Regions from separate parts of the Homo sapiens genome. Here all the other regions are linked to region 1. Evidence: promoter capture Hi-C in 16 types of primary human blood cells and fetal thymus (Javierre and others, 2016). All regions are on one chromosome and are shown on one strand. Each heading gives the region's core, a stretch centred on a gene start or on the middle of the fragment in contact. The rest is flanking DNA. Distances are from core to core; before and after follow the strand shown.

Region 1 (4,187 bases), core at 1,176-3,675:
CTTCTGTCCACCAGCCAATCTACATGAGAAGCACCCAAATTAGAGCATTCCCATTCACATCACCAAAATTCCATCACTAATTCGAGTGAAATACACTGAAATTAGTCTAAAAGTTTTCTTTACATTGGTTAAAGTATGGGGGTCATGGGAAGATGGGAATAAAGACAAGCCCAAAGAGATGCCTGGGGCTAAACCAGGCTCTGACAATCTGACTTCATTAGCAGTGTGATTTTTATAGAGCAATTGCCTCAACACAGGGATAACAAAAAGTTTAAATTGGTCCTGAAAGTGCCACTTTTGACCATTCTCAATTCCCCATAATATTTTTGCTTCTATGGGTAATTATATCTTTCTTCCTGACAAGAGGATGCTGCTCAACTTCCATTTCCTCAGGGCTGGGGTTAACCATGACAATGGAAAATACAAGATGGTTATGCCAAGTACTGGATGAATGAACAGCTGCAAAGCCCCTAATACCTACAGCGCCCTAAGGACTAGATAACATGACTCTGTTGTGAACAGTGAAGTACCACCCTGTACATGTGAATACCAATGGGACTGACCTCTCAAAGTCTGGGCCCAGATTTGTGGCTTCAGAGCCATGCATATTTCCTCAGTGAGAGCTAAGAGCTGAGCTTTGTGGTCAGATGGTCCTGGGTTCTCGTTATCAAGTTTCTTGAGCAAGTCTACTATTCTGTGCCTCAGTTTTCCCACATGTAAAATGGGGAATAATAAGACACTGACTAGAAAAGGGAATGCAGGTAAAACACTGAACAGTGTGCCTGAGACACGGCAAGGACTCAAAAAATGACAGTGATCATTTTTATCATGTCAAGTGCCTAAAACAGCACCTGGTACAAAAAAAAACCCTCAATGAATGGTGGTCATTTTATTGGTCCTTTTCATGACCAAGAACAAGCTCACACACCAAGACTGCACATGGGCTGAAGGGCCAGTACAAATCTGAAGGGAGGCTAAAGAAGCTTCCCCCGTGACCACCAAGCAGGACTGACTAAATGGCACTACAGAGTGGTGAATTCAGAACTTGAACTCTGCCAACCGGTCAAACGCTGGGGTCCCACACTAGTATCAGTTATACTCTCTCTGCTATATTCCTGTAAAGTTTTCAGAAAGAAAAATTCTGTTGATGTCACAGAACTAGAAGCAACGGACTGGGGTAGTCAAACAGACACCATCTTAAGGACAAGATTGGCATCAAATCCATGAATCCAATAAGCATTTTAAAATGCCAGGAGCTGTGTGATCAGATGAAGAGGCCTTCCCTGACTATGAACTGGGGAGGAAGTATGTAAGCCCCATACAGACAACCTGGAGATGGCCTGGACACTAAAAGGTTTTCATTTGCAACTGGGTCTTAGGTCCCTCTTCCTCCTAAAATCAAGGGGGAGGTGGAAGCTTTTTAAATGAGGTTTTTTTTTTTTTTCCTGGCATAATGCAAAAGGCATGGACAGTGGGTCAGACAGACTTAAGTTCCAATTCAGATGTGCCACTTAGTGGTTGACTGTTTTTTGTCTTCTTTTTGAGATGGAGTTTCGCTCTCGTTGCCCAGGCTGGAGTGCAATAGTGAGATCTCTGCTCACCGCAACCTCTGCCTCCGGGGTTCAAGCAATTCTCCCACCTCAGCCTCCCGAGTAGCTGGGATTACAGGCATGTGCTCCCATGCCCGGCTACTTTTTATTTTTATTTTTTTGTATTTTTAGTCATGGAGACATGGAGACAAGGTTTCTCCATGTTGGTCAGGCTGGTCTCGAACTCCTGACCTCAGGTGATTCGCCCACCTCGGCCTCCCAAAGTGCTGGGATTACAGGCATGAGCCACCGCGCCCGGCAGTGGTTGACTGTTTTTAAAGCGAGTCATTTATCCTGTCCCTGAATGATACGATAACATATGTTATTAAAGGAGAAAACGCAGGTCAAACAGACTGTACATATGGTTCGTTCCCGCTGCTATCAGGGAAGCAGGTCTGGCCACAGATGGGGCATAGAACGAGGCCAGTGGTCAGCATCTCGACTCAGGCTTTCAGGGGTCAGAGCTCCCGGCTATTGGACACAGGGGGCAACGCACAGGCCTCCCCCCGACAGCCAGCTGCGCGGTGGCGCCCCCTCCTACCGAGCAGCTTGCTGGTCTGGATGTCGATGGGCACGTGCTGATGGTCCTGGCGGGAAACACGGTGAGGAGGGGGGCGTGAGCGCGGAGAGAGGACGTACCACTCGCGCGCTCATTTCAACGTCCCAACCACCACCCTGCAGGGCCAGAACGGGGCCAGAGCGATGGGCTGGGTTGAGCCGCTTCCGGAGGGAGACCGGAGACACAGGTTAGGGGTCCGCGGCCAGTCCCCAGCACACCCAGCTCCTGTCCCCACACCTCCATCTTTCCTCCACTTCCGCTTCAGGCTGGAGACTGTGGCCCGCCCCGCCCTACCACCAATCCAGTGGCGTTGTGGCCGAGCCTCCGTTTAGACACAAACGGGCATCCTTCGGCCACGTCGCCGCCTTCCGTACAGCCAATCAGGGTTTACGCTCCACTCAGGCCTCAAGCCCCGCCCACCCCAGGCTCCGAATGGCTGAGCTCGGGAGGGGCGGGAGAATGGAGACAGCCAATTGGAGACGCGAGGCGGGCTCAGGGCAGGGGACGGGAGGGGGTGCGCTGCAGCGGCCGTGGGATTGCGACAGGCGGCGCTCGAGAGCCCAGCCTGGCAGCCGCTTCCCCTGGCGGGCACTGGGTCTTCTCCACGCAGATTGAGACGTCTGCTGGCGGGGTCCTAGCGCCGATCTGGGAGGCCGTTGCAAATACCTTCTTCCCTCCTTGCGTCGCTTTACCATCCAGAGCAGTGTGCAGGTCTCTTGTGGCACTTGTCATGCTTTGCCTCCTCATTCAGTTTCTCTAATAGACATGGTTGAGCACCTGCAACGTGTTGGGCGATTAGGGCAGGGAAGGGGAAGGAAGAGAGTCGGTGAGACGTCCCAAAGAGAACACCTACATTGAGTCTAAACGAAGAGCTGAAGATAGCTGGGTGATGTGGGAAGAGGAGTTTTAGGTGGAGGAGACTACACAGACAAAGCTTAGGTGGCCACAAACTGCAAGAGGGGTGCAAGCAACAACAGGCAGGCAGGACGGGCAACGTAATTTGTGAGGTCCAGTGCAAAATGGAAATGCACAGCTGCTTGTTACAAAATGATGAAGAATTTCAAGATGAAGTCGGCTCCGCGGGCAGGCCAACCTCTATACCGTAGATGGTTTGAGGCAGCGAGTGGCTAGAGGAGAGGCTGTAAGGGTGGAAAGGCCATATCAAAGGGAGACTTATTAAGGAACTTGGACTTCATCCCTTCAGACAGAGGAATCACAGAAGGGGTTTGAGGCAGGGAGGAACCTGTACAGATAGGCTGCTGGGATGATGGATGCATGGGAGATAAGACTGGGGACAAGGAGGCTGGAAGGAGGTTGTTATCGAGGGATTATAGCCTGAGCTGGGACACAAGATATGAGGAGGAAGGGGAAGGGCTGGATCTGAGGAATATTTAGGAGGAAAATGTATAGGACTTGGCAATTGATTGGCTGTTTGGGTGGAGGAGAGAGACACTAAGGATGACACCTAGGTGATTAGGTGGGAACCACCACCTGAGACAGGGATGCAGGATGCTGAGCAGGTGTTGGGGAGGAGGGGGTCTAGCTTTGAACCTAGTCTGGCAATGCTGGGAGACCCCCAGATGGAAAGTGTGCAGAAGGCACTTGGGTCTATAATTTTGGAGTTCGAGGGAGTTGTCGGGGCTGGAGATACAGCTTGGAGAGTCACAAGCTGGCTAATCTGTGGTCCGAGTGGTGGCTGAAGCTAAGGGAGAGTCTGAGATTGGCCAAGAAGTGGGTAGAGTAAGGAGGGAGGGTAGGCTGAGGCCAGATCCCCCAGGATCTCACAGCGCTGGGTATGCCTTTTCTTTTTTTTTTTTTTTTTTTTTTTTTTTTGAGACGGAGTCACGCTCTGTCGCCCGGGCTGGAGTGCAGTGACACGATCTCGGCTCACTGCAAGCTCTGCCTCCTGGGTTCACGCCATTCTCCTGCCTCAGCCTCCCCAGTAGCTGGGACTACAGGCGCCCGCCACCACGCCCGGCTAATTTTTTTGTATTTTTAGTAGAGACGAGGTCTCACCGTGTTAGCCAGGATGGTCTCGA
Region 2 (4,571 bases), core at 683-3,182, 850 kb before region 1:
ACGCTGTGTGTGAAGTGCAGAGCAAACAACCTTACGGGGATTTTACTGTTGTTTTACTATTTATCTATTTAGTCAGGTGGGTGCCTTAGGAACAAAACAGCAGTGAAAACAACAGGGTTGGACCTGGATTTTTCCACACACTCTTGCCTCTGACAGCTTCTAGGACATGGTCCAAATTTTTTGACAATTAGGACCCTCCATCATTCTGCTTCAGTTTTTCATGCCCAGGCCGAGTAAGTCCCTCAGTGTTTACCTTGTGGATTTGTCTGTTTAGGGTTTGCCAGGCACAAATCACTGATATTCTCTGCTTTCCTGGCTGTCACTCGGGTTGAAGCTTGCTTTGCTCTACAGTGAGGGCAGCTCCACTGTTCACCGTGTTCACCCTGTGTTTGCTCCTGACATCAGCCCTGAAAGGACAGTAGTGCCAGGCTCTGGCCTATAAGCTCCCGTTGCAACATCTCATAAATAACCAGTTGTCAGGGATTTTAGTGGAAACTCTCTGAAAGCCGTAAATCTTTGCTGCTCTCTCCTGTATCCTCTCCCTCATTTCCATCACAATATCACTCCTGAGGGACCGGAGACCAAACAGGAGCTAGGCAGAGCAGATTGGTAGGACGCTGGGGAAAGACAACAGTGGGATGGGGGAGGGGACCAGGCTGGGACAGTTGGTCTTAGGGAAGCATCTGCTGGGTGACCAGTTAATGATGGTCACTTGGCCCCTTAGGGCCTGTCGGGGAGGGGCACCACAGCACGGGGCCACCTGCGGGGGGAAAAGGGAAGAGTGCTGACTGGATGGCAGAGAGGTTTCTGAAAGAGCAGCAGATGGGCCACTGGTTCCACTTTGGGCCTTCTGTTCACTCCGGGGTGACTGTAAGCACCACGTAGTAGGCTTCCAGGGTCGGCTTGAGGCTAAGCTACACCCTTGCCTCTGGTGTTCTGCCTGTGCACATCAGCAGGTGAAGGGGATCTGGGTTGGGAGGAACTTAGGTTACCAACTCAGGCCCAAATGAACAATGTTTATTTATTTATTTGAGACAGAGTTTCCCTCTGTTGCCCAGGCTGGAGTGCAGTGGCGCGATCTCAGCTTAATGCAACCTCTGCCTCCTGTGTTCAAGCGATCCTCCCGCCTCAGCCTCCCGATAGCTGGGACCACAGGTACGCGCACCGCGCTCGGTTAATTTTTGTATTTTTAGTAGAGAGGAGGTTTCGCCATGTTGTCCAGCTGGTGTTGAACTTCTGAGCTCAAGCGATCCACCCACCTAGGCCTCCCAAAGTGCTGGGATTACAGGCGTGAGCCACCGCGCCCGACCATCTTCAATGATTTGAATCCAGTCACTACTACAGATTCTCCACCTGAGACCAAATGGTTGCTCTGAGAAGCCCAGACCCCTAACCCCTTAAGTCTCACTGACTCTTCAGTCGGTCTAGGCGGCCCTCTCTTACTGATCAGTTCACTGGAGGCCATGACCCCCACACTCTGGAGGTGAGGTCAGGGTTCAATACGCCTGAGCGGTCATCACAGGTTTGCAACACCCATTTTCCTGTTGAAGAAGCTAAGCCTCACAGAGGTAACGTGGCCTGCCCAAGGTGACACAGGCACTAATATGCCTGAGATGCTGATTTAAGTCTCCAACCAGTGTTTTCCCACAGTGCCTCCTGCTTCAGGTTTGCCCTCTCCCGAAGGCCTAAATTCAAGGTGCCCCCCTCCCTCACCGCAGCCCCGCGCAGCTGGACCTCTGGAGCCAGACGTTCTGGCCGCGCCCGCGCACGGCGCCCGACGGCACCGGCGCGGATGGGCTGGGACTGCGGCTTGGCTCGCTGGGCAAGGGTAGGGCTGCGGGAGCGAGCGGCGGTCCAGCCCCTGGCGCCCGGGTGCGCGGTGCGCGCGTCCTCCGCGTCTCCCGGGACAACCGTGGGCGCGCCCCTCCCCTAGCGCCTGGGCGGTTAATTGGATTCGGGAGGGAGGGGGCATGGCAGCTACTGCAGGGGCCAATCGAAGGCCTAGAAGGCCCCGTATGCAAATATGAGGGCCGGGCGGACCCAAAGTTAGGGCGAGCGCGGGTTGGGGTTGGGGCTGTCTGGCAGCCAATGGGAGCGTTACTCCTTCATCCTTCGAGGAGGGGGCCGGCAGGTGTGGTTGCAAGCTGGACTAGCAGCCCAGCGGGGCGAGACGGGGGAGTAGGAATTGCGGGTAAGAGCGCCCCAAAGCCCGGTGCTGGCTCCAGACCGCAGCCTCCTGGTGCCTGTCCCCTGAAAACCTGGCTAGACACGTCTCCTTAAACCCACACGGGACCCAGGTCCCCAGGGTAGCCCGCTGCCCTCCCTGGTGGCGTTCCATGGCGCCAGGCACTCACCCTCACGGTCCCTCGGCTCCGGGACTCCCCCCTTCTCAGTCCCTCTTATTAACGTTCATTTCCCGCCCTCCCCCGATTTCCTAAACCACAGTCCACCAAGGAGCTGTCGCTTAGACACCAGCGATCCCTGGGACTCACACAACTCTCTTCATCCCCTTCATCCCCATCATTGGGTCATTTTCTTCATCACTGTTCTTCCTTTGTCTGGAGAAACCTTCCAGCAAGACACTTCCCATTTTTCATGGCCGGCATAGTCCTCTGCTGATGCCCCTACCGCCTTCCAGCCTGGTGTTCTTTCATTTCCAGTTGTTATTTCTCACCCCTCCTGAAAAAATACTCTTCTGGCTTTGCAGAAAGTTCTCCTTTGGGATTTGAACTCTAGGAAAAATATCACATTGGGGGATGAAGTGGGAAGGGAGCTAACGTTTTGAAAGCACCAGTATGTGCGAGGCACTCCAAAAAAATTTAATATTTATGCCAATCTTATTATTATATTTTCTTTTTTGTTTGTTTTAAGAGATGGAGGTGGGGGTGGGGGGGCTCACTTTTTTGCCCAGGCTGGTCTCGAACTCCTGAGCTCAAGTGATCCTCCCACTTGGGCTTCCCAAAGTGCTGGAATTACAGGCATGAGTCACCACGCCTGGTTTATATTTTCATTTTACAATATAGCCTTTATTTTGAACCAAGCACTGCTTTAAGGGTATTAGAAATATTAACTCATTTAATCTTTAAAACAGCTCCATAAAATGAATATTATTATCATCCCCATTTTACTTATACAGAAGCTGAGGTACAGAGAGGCTAAGTTACTCACCCATGGTCACACATTCTAGAAACTAGTAGAGCTGGGATTTGGATCCAGATCCATCTGTCTTTGTTAGCAATGCCCTGAATATTGTGGAGAAAATGACTAGGCATGAGCCTGATCTGAATATTGCATCTTCCAATCTTGCAGAATTTCTCAGTTTCTAGAAGAATAAAAGATGGCATCTAAGTCAGCAAGATTCTTATTGTTCCCACTACAGGTGACTTGTCATTCTCAACACTTCTTATTGGCAAAGCCCTTGAGCAATTGGGTGCCCCATCCCTCCCTTGTTAGTTCACATTTTGCTTAGGACCCTTTCAGGCCCCGGGCTGAAATTCAAAGTGTGACTAAAACGAAAAGTCAAAAGACCACAAAAAACATCTTATTTTATCCTGTCTGAATCAAAGCTCAAAGCACTTTTCTAGATGTGAAGCTTTTATCCTCCTAGTGGTCCTGTAATTATAGAGAAGATAGGGAGTGGGAGAGGAAATAATTGCTTGGATTTTTATGACATACTGAGTTGGAGGGGCAAAGCTGAAAGCAAGATCCAGAGGTCTTACCTCCACATCTTTTCTTCCCCCATCCAATTTGACATTTTCCAAGAACCACTGGAGGCCTTCAGAGGGATGCTTCCAGTAGGGAAATGAGGACCAAAAGATGAAAAGGAGGTACGTGAAGGAAAACCTATTATCTGGTGAAAGAGAGGGACTTCACAGACAGACACAATAGGCGAAACTTTCAGTGCTCTATATATTCCTATAGACTAGAAAAAAAGTCCAGGTGATGAAGGTCAGAGATGAAAAAACTTGGCTACAACTTGAAATATGTTCTCCCAGGGTTCTCTTAGTCAACCACCAAATTATTGTTTTCTATCATTTATAGGATGCCCGTGTTCATTCAGTTTTGCAAAAGAAATCACTAAACTGCTGGGCGCGGTGGCTCATGCTTGTAATCCCAGCACTTTGGGAGGCTGAGGTGGGCTGATAACCTGAGGTTGGGAGTTTGAGACCAGCCTGACCAACATGGAGAAACCCCATCTCTACTAAAAATACAAAATTAGCCAGGCGTGGTGGTGCATGCCTGTAGTCCCAGCTCCCGGGAAGCTAAGGCGGGAGAATCACTTGAATCCAGGAGGCAGAGGTTGCGGTGAGCTGAGATCGTGCCATTGCACTCCAGCCTGGGCAACAGGCTGGAGTTTGAAAGAAAGAAAGAAAGATAAAAGAAAGCACTAAACATTTTCCACCCTCTGCAACACCTCCAGGGAAGAGGAGAGTAGTCAACAGGTATAGTCCTTCAGAAGTGGAAATAAGACAGGGACCCTCCTCTGAGTTTTTTCCAAATAACCCGCAATGGACCCGTCCCAGTGGACCCGTCCCAGTGCTCATTCCCTCCCCCTGGTGGCCAATGTAGGA
Region 3 (4,273 bases), core at 439-2,938, 940 kb before region 1:
TAGGGACTTGCTAGGGTGGGTAGGGACATAAAAAGGGCAAATAGGCGACAAAGCAGAGGAAAGCATTGGCCAAACTCAAAGGTATGTCAGAATTGGATGACTGAAATGGCTGGAGGAGGAAAAGAGTTGAGTGCTGAGTTTCAGTTAGAGGTGGCAATCCCTCCACAGTTGACCTCCTGTGTCAGGCACTGTGCCAGGTACTTTACACACATTATATTAATTTTTATTACAACCTTGAAAAGTAGACACAGAGACATCTGAAAGGACGTGGAACATGGGGAATAAGAACTAAACGAAGATGCTTGTGATGGGGGCATGGGGAGAAGTCAAACAGGTTTCAGGATTAATAGCTAAAGAGCACTGCCCTTTTCTTATGCGATAGGTACTATTCTATGTGCTTCTGGAAAACATCATCTACTAAATGATAGGATCTAAGATCAGTCACCCAAGAAATAAGCACAGAAAGGACTTAGGCCTTTGTTCCTATATTTGATGAGTATATTTGCTTCATAGAAGTAAAACAGACGACCCGGGGAGGGTGGGGGGTGGGGGGAGGGAAATTACAAGAAAGAAGCTCCTGAGTGGGATATTACAATCCAGAGTGGCACTGGGGAATTGGGGGGAGGTAGCCTGTGTTTCTGGAAGAGGCGTAAGAGTGGACAGCTTTGGGACACTGGAAAAGGGGTTCAAGGAAAGATTGGGGCGAGGGAAGCGATCTAGACCTGGGAAAAGACTGTGTGGAGGGAATCTGAGAAAAACGGAGGATAAAAAGAAAGGTTGGCTCGAGTCAGAGGCATGGCAAAGGAAGCTGAGTTCGTCTGTGTTAGGAACGGGGCTCCAGAGGAGAAGAGAGGGGACCGATGGGTGGGGCCTGCGGGCAGCATCTAGCAAGGTTGGGGTGGGGAAGGGGAAATAGGGGCGGCGCCGAAGGCGGGAGGGGGCGTTACTGAAGCGCTAAAGGGTCGGGTTTCCACCCGGAGGTGGGAGGTGTGGGGGAGGGTGGCCGGAATGGAGACGGAGGGCTCACGGGAGGTTGTCGAGGGGCGGGGTCGGATCTGGGCACACGAGGCGGGGGTTGGTGCTTGCGGGTCTGAGGGTGGGGGGAGAAGGGAGTTGGATCCCGACGCCCGGAGCTGGCAAGATTTGGGCCGTGGAGGTGGGCCGCCGCGAGGGCAGCGCAGTGGGTGGGGGGTGAGTTGTAGTGGGAGAGGGTGGGGGGCGGGGAAGGTCGAGCCCCGGAGCTCGGGGCTGGGGGAGGAAAAACCCCGGCTCACCGCTTGATCCGGAGTAGACACTGCGGCGCGGTGCGCTCGCCGTCCCAGTCGGAGCTGAGCGTGGGGTCCCAGTGGCTAAGCAGCGCGGCCCCGTGGGCAGCGGCTGAGGGCGGGAGCCCGGGCAGCGGAGCCAGGCCGCTCCCCGGGCCCCCGGCCCCGCCCGCTGCCGCCGCCGCCGCCCACACATCCGGCAGGAAAGGCGGCCCGAACCCGCCGCCGCTGCCGCTAACGCCAACAACACCAGCAACGCTGCTCGCCCCGGGGCCCGCCGCCCCGGCGCCCGCCGTTGCCGCCTCCTCAGTCGGACTCTCCGCCATCGCTGCTTCGCTTCCGGGACTACTCGGCAGCACGTCCGCCGACCAGAGCGGCCGCTGCTCCCGCCCGCTCCCGCACCACCGAGAACCGGGCCAGAGTGTCCCCACCCCCTCCGCTTCCACAGCCCAGACGGTGCTGGCTCCGCCCACCCCCGCCCCAACCAGCGAGAGGCGCTCTGCAAGAGCGTCCACCTACGGTCCTCCAGGACGGGAGGGGTGGGAACTAGCAGGCCGTGATGGTTCTGGGCTCGTGTGGGTCCTGCGCTGTGCGGAAGTAGCGGAGAGCCCAATTCAAGTGTTGAAAGGGGAGAAGAGAGGAGGGAGTGGGGGAGGAAGGGCCATATCATTCCCGTTAATGGCGGCGACCCTCAGACGTCTGCATGGTTAGGATTGGGGATCCAGCATCCTCATGGGAAGCTCAGTAGAGAAGTTGACTCGCTTTGGGCCCCTTCTCTCGGAAAGGCTCTGCGATTGATCCCTCCTGCACACTTGTGCACCTAGGGCAGGGTACCATTGCCCTTGCCTGCAACAGGACCAAGAGAGAACTCAACTTGGAATGAAAAGCTACCTCTTTTAGAGTTTATTCAACATATATTTATGAAGGGCCTACTAAATGCCAGTCACTGTTGCTAGTTGTTGCCATGGGGATAATGAAACAGAACTAGAGAAGCTTGGTGAAAGGAAGAAACATCAGGCCTCCTGACTCCAAGCTTAGTACTTTTTCTTCCCACAAATCTTGGAATATACAGGAATCGAGGTACTGTGAGTGTAAACCCTGAGGATTCTTTGGGTCTTTCCTAAAATGTTTAAAGTGAAAAATAATCTGCCAGGCTCGGTGGCTCACGCCTGTAATCCCAGCACTTTGGGAGGCCGAGGTGGGCGAATCACGAGGTTAGGAGTTCGAGACCAGCCTAACATGGTGAAACCCCGCCTCTATTAAAAATACAAAAATTAGCCGGGCGTGGTGGCGTGCACCTGTAGTCCCAGCTACTCAGGAGGCTTAGGCAGGTGGATCACTTGAACCCGGGAGGCGGAGTTTGCAGTGAGTTGAGATCACGCCACTGCACTCCAGCCTGGGCGACAGAGCCAGACTCCGTCTCAAAAAAAAAAAAAAAAATTCCTATGGACTAAGAATGACAGGGGCCTTCCTAAAAAACTGTTTTTCCTTGCCGGGCGCGGTGGCTCATGCCTGTAATCCCAGCACTTTGGGAGGCTGAGGCGGGCGGATCACTAGGTCAGGAGATCAAGACCATCCTGGCTAACACTGTGAAACCCCGTCTCTACTAAAAATACAAAAAATTAGCCGGGCGTGGTGGCGGGCGCCTGTAGTCCCAGCTACTCGGAAGGCTGAGGCAGGAGAATGGCGTGAACCCGGGAGGCGGAGCTTGCAGTGGGCGGAGATCGTGCCACTGCACTCCAGCCTGGGCGACAGAGCAAGACTCCGTCTCAAAACAAAAACAAAAACTTTTTTCCCTAGCAAAAATATAGGATCAATATTAACTGGAAACCAGTGGGGCCAGATGTATTTCAGACTTTGGAATGACACACCAAGCAAGGAGTGGGGCAGCGCCGGGTAGCCAAACCTATTGACATTTCTGCATCAAAGTGTATGAACATTCGTACCAAGTCAAATGAATAGCCTCACTTTGGATGTTTTGCCACCAAGTTTGGTTTTTTAAAAAAGAAGTCTGGGCCGGGCACGGTGGCTCACGTCTGTAATCCCAACAATTTGGGAGGCCGAGGTGGGTGGATCACCTGAGGTAAGGAGTTCGAGACCAGCTTGACCAATATGGTGAAACCCCGTCTCTACTAAAAATACAAAAATTAGCCGGGTGTGTTGGCAGGCGCCTGTAGTCCCAACTACTCAGGAGGCTGAGACAGAAGAATCACTTGAACCCGGGAAGGAGAAGTTGCAGTGAGCCGAGACTGAGTCACTGCACTCCATCCTGGGTAAAAGAGTGAGACTCCGTCTCAAAAAAAAGAGTCTGGCTTTAGAGTTTTTTTGTTTTTTGTTTTTTGTTTTTAAAGAGGGAATCTTGCTCTTGTCACGCAGGCTGGAGTGCAATGGCGCAATCGTGGCTCACTGCAATCTCCGCCTCCTGGGTTCAAACAATTCTCCTGCCTCAGCCTCCCCAGTAGCTGAGATTACAAGCATGCCTCTATGCCTGGCTAATTTTTTGTATTTTTTTAGTAGAGGCGCCTCTACGCCTGGCTAATTTTTTGTATTTTTTTAGTAGAGGCGAGGTTTCACCATGTTGGCCAGGAAGGTCTCCAACTCCTTTTGGAGTTGGATCAAGTCATCCGCCCTTCTCGGTCTCCCAAAGTGCTGGGATTACAGAAGTCATCCACCCACCCCACCCTTCCTGCCTTTTAGAGTTTTATGAATTTACAGTAATGGAATGCAGACCTGAAGGATAATGACCAAGATTTATGGAGAGCTAAAGATTGATTTGTTTTGAGACAGGGTCTTGCTCTGTCACCCAGACTGGAGTGCAGTGATGGGATCACAACTCACTGCAACCTCTGCCTCAGCCCTCCAAGTAGCTGGGATTACAGACACGTGCCACGATGCCCGGCTAATTTTTGTATTTTTCTGTAGAAGCGAGGTTTCACCATGTTGCCCAGGTTGGTCTCGAACTTCTGGGCTCAAGCAGTCCTTCCGCCTTGGCCTCCTAAAGTGCTCGG

What was found. Contacts are between HindIII fragments. The CHiCAGO score rates a contact against its expected background, and 5 or more counts as called.
Region 2: a contact is called between the fragment with the promoter of TTLL6 here and the fragment with the promoter of CDK5RAP3 in region 1, in 5 of 17 cell types (total B cells, M0 macrophages, non-activated CD4 T cells and 2 more). The highest score is 6.1, in total B cells.
Region 3: a contact is called between the fragment with the promoter of UBE2Z here and the fragment with the promoter of CDK5RAP3 in region 1, in 5 of 17 cell types (M0 macrophages, fetal thymus, non-activated CD4 T cells and 2 more). The highest score is 12.8, in M0 macrophages.

What each region holds. Positions count from the first base shown.
Region 1 is chr17:47,969,351-47,973,537 of GRCh38, reverse strand. It overlaps CDK5RAP3 (CDK5 regulatory subunit associated protein 3), which reads right to left and starts at 2,425. Exons shown (of 14, transcript NM_176096.3): 1 at 2,386-2,425; 2 at 2,131-2,176; 3 at 1-19. The coding sequence starts at 2,391. RefSeq lists an enhancer at 1,436-2,063 and a silencer at 2,485-2,774. The HindIII fragment of the contact is 1,666 bases long and covers 1,419-3,084 here.
Region 2 is chr17:48,814,590-48,819,160 of GRCh38, reverse strand. TTLL6 (tubulin tyrosine ligase like 6) reads left to right here and starts at 1,932. Exons shown (of 16, transcript NM_001130918.3): 1 at 1,932-2,191. The coding sequence starts at 2,089. It overlaps LOC105371813 (a long non-coding RNA gene), which reads right to left. Exons shown (of 4, transcript XR_001752926.1): 3 at 3,169-3,322; 4 at 2,203-2,732. RefSeq lists silencers at 1,737-2,086, 2,177-2,226. The HindIII fragment of the contact is 3,258 bases long and covers 337-3,594 here.
Region 3 is chr17:48,905,822-48,910,094 of GRCh38, reverse strand. It overlaps UBE2Z (ubiquitin conjugating enzyme E2 Z), which reads right to left and starts at 1,688. Exons shown (of 7, transcript NM_023079.5): 1 at 1,275-1,688. The coding sequence starts at 1,591. LOC105371814 (a long non-coding RNA gene) reads left to right here and starts at 1,112. Exons shown (of 4, transcript NR_135674.1): 1 at 1,112-1,156. RefSeq lists an enhancer at 1-26 and silencers at 900-1,029, 1,300-1,549. The HindIII fragment of the contact is 3,469 bases long and covers 1-2,260 here.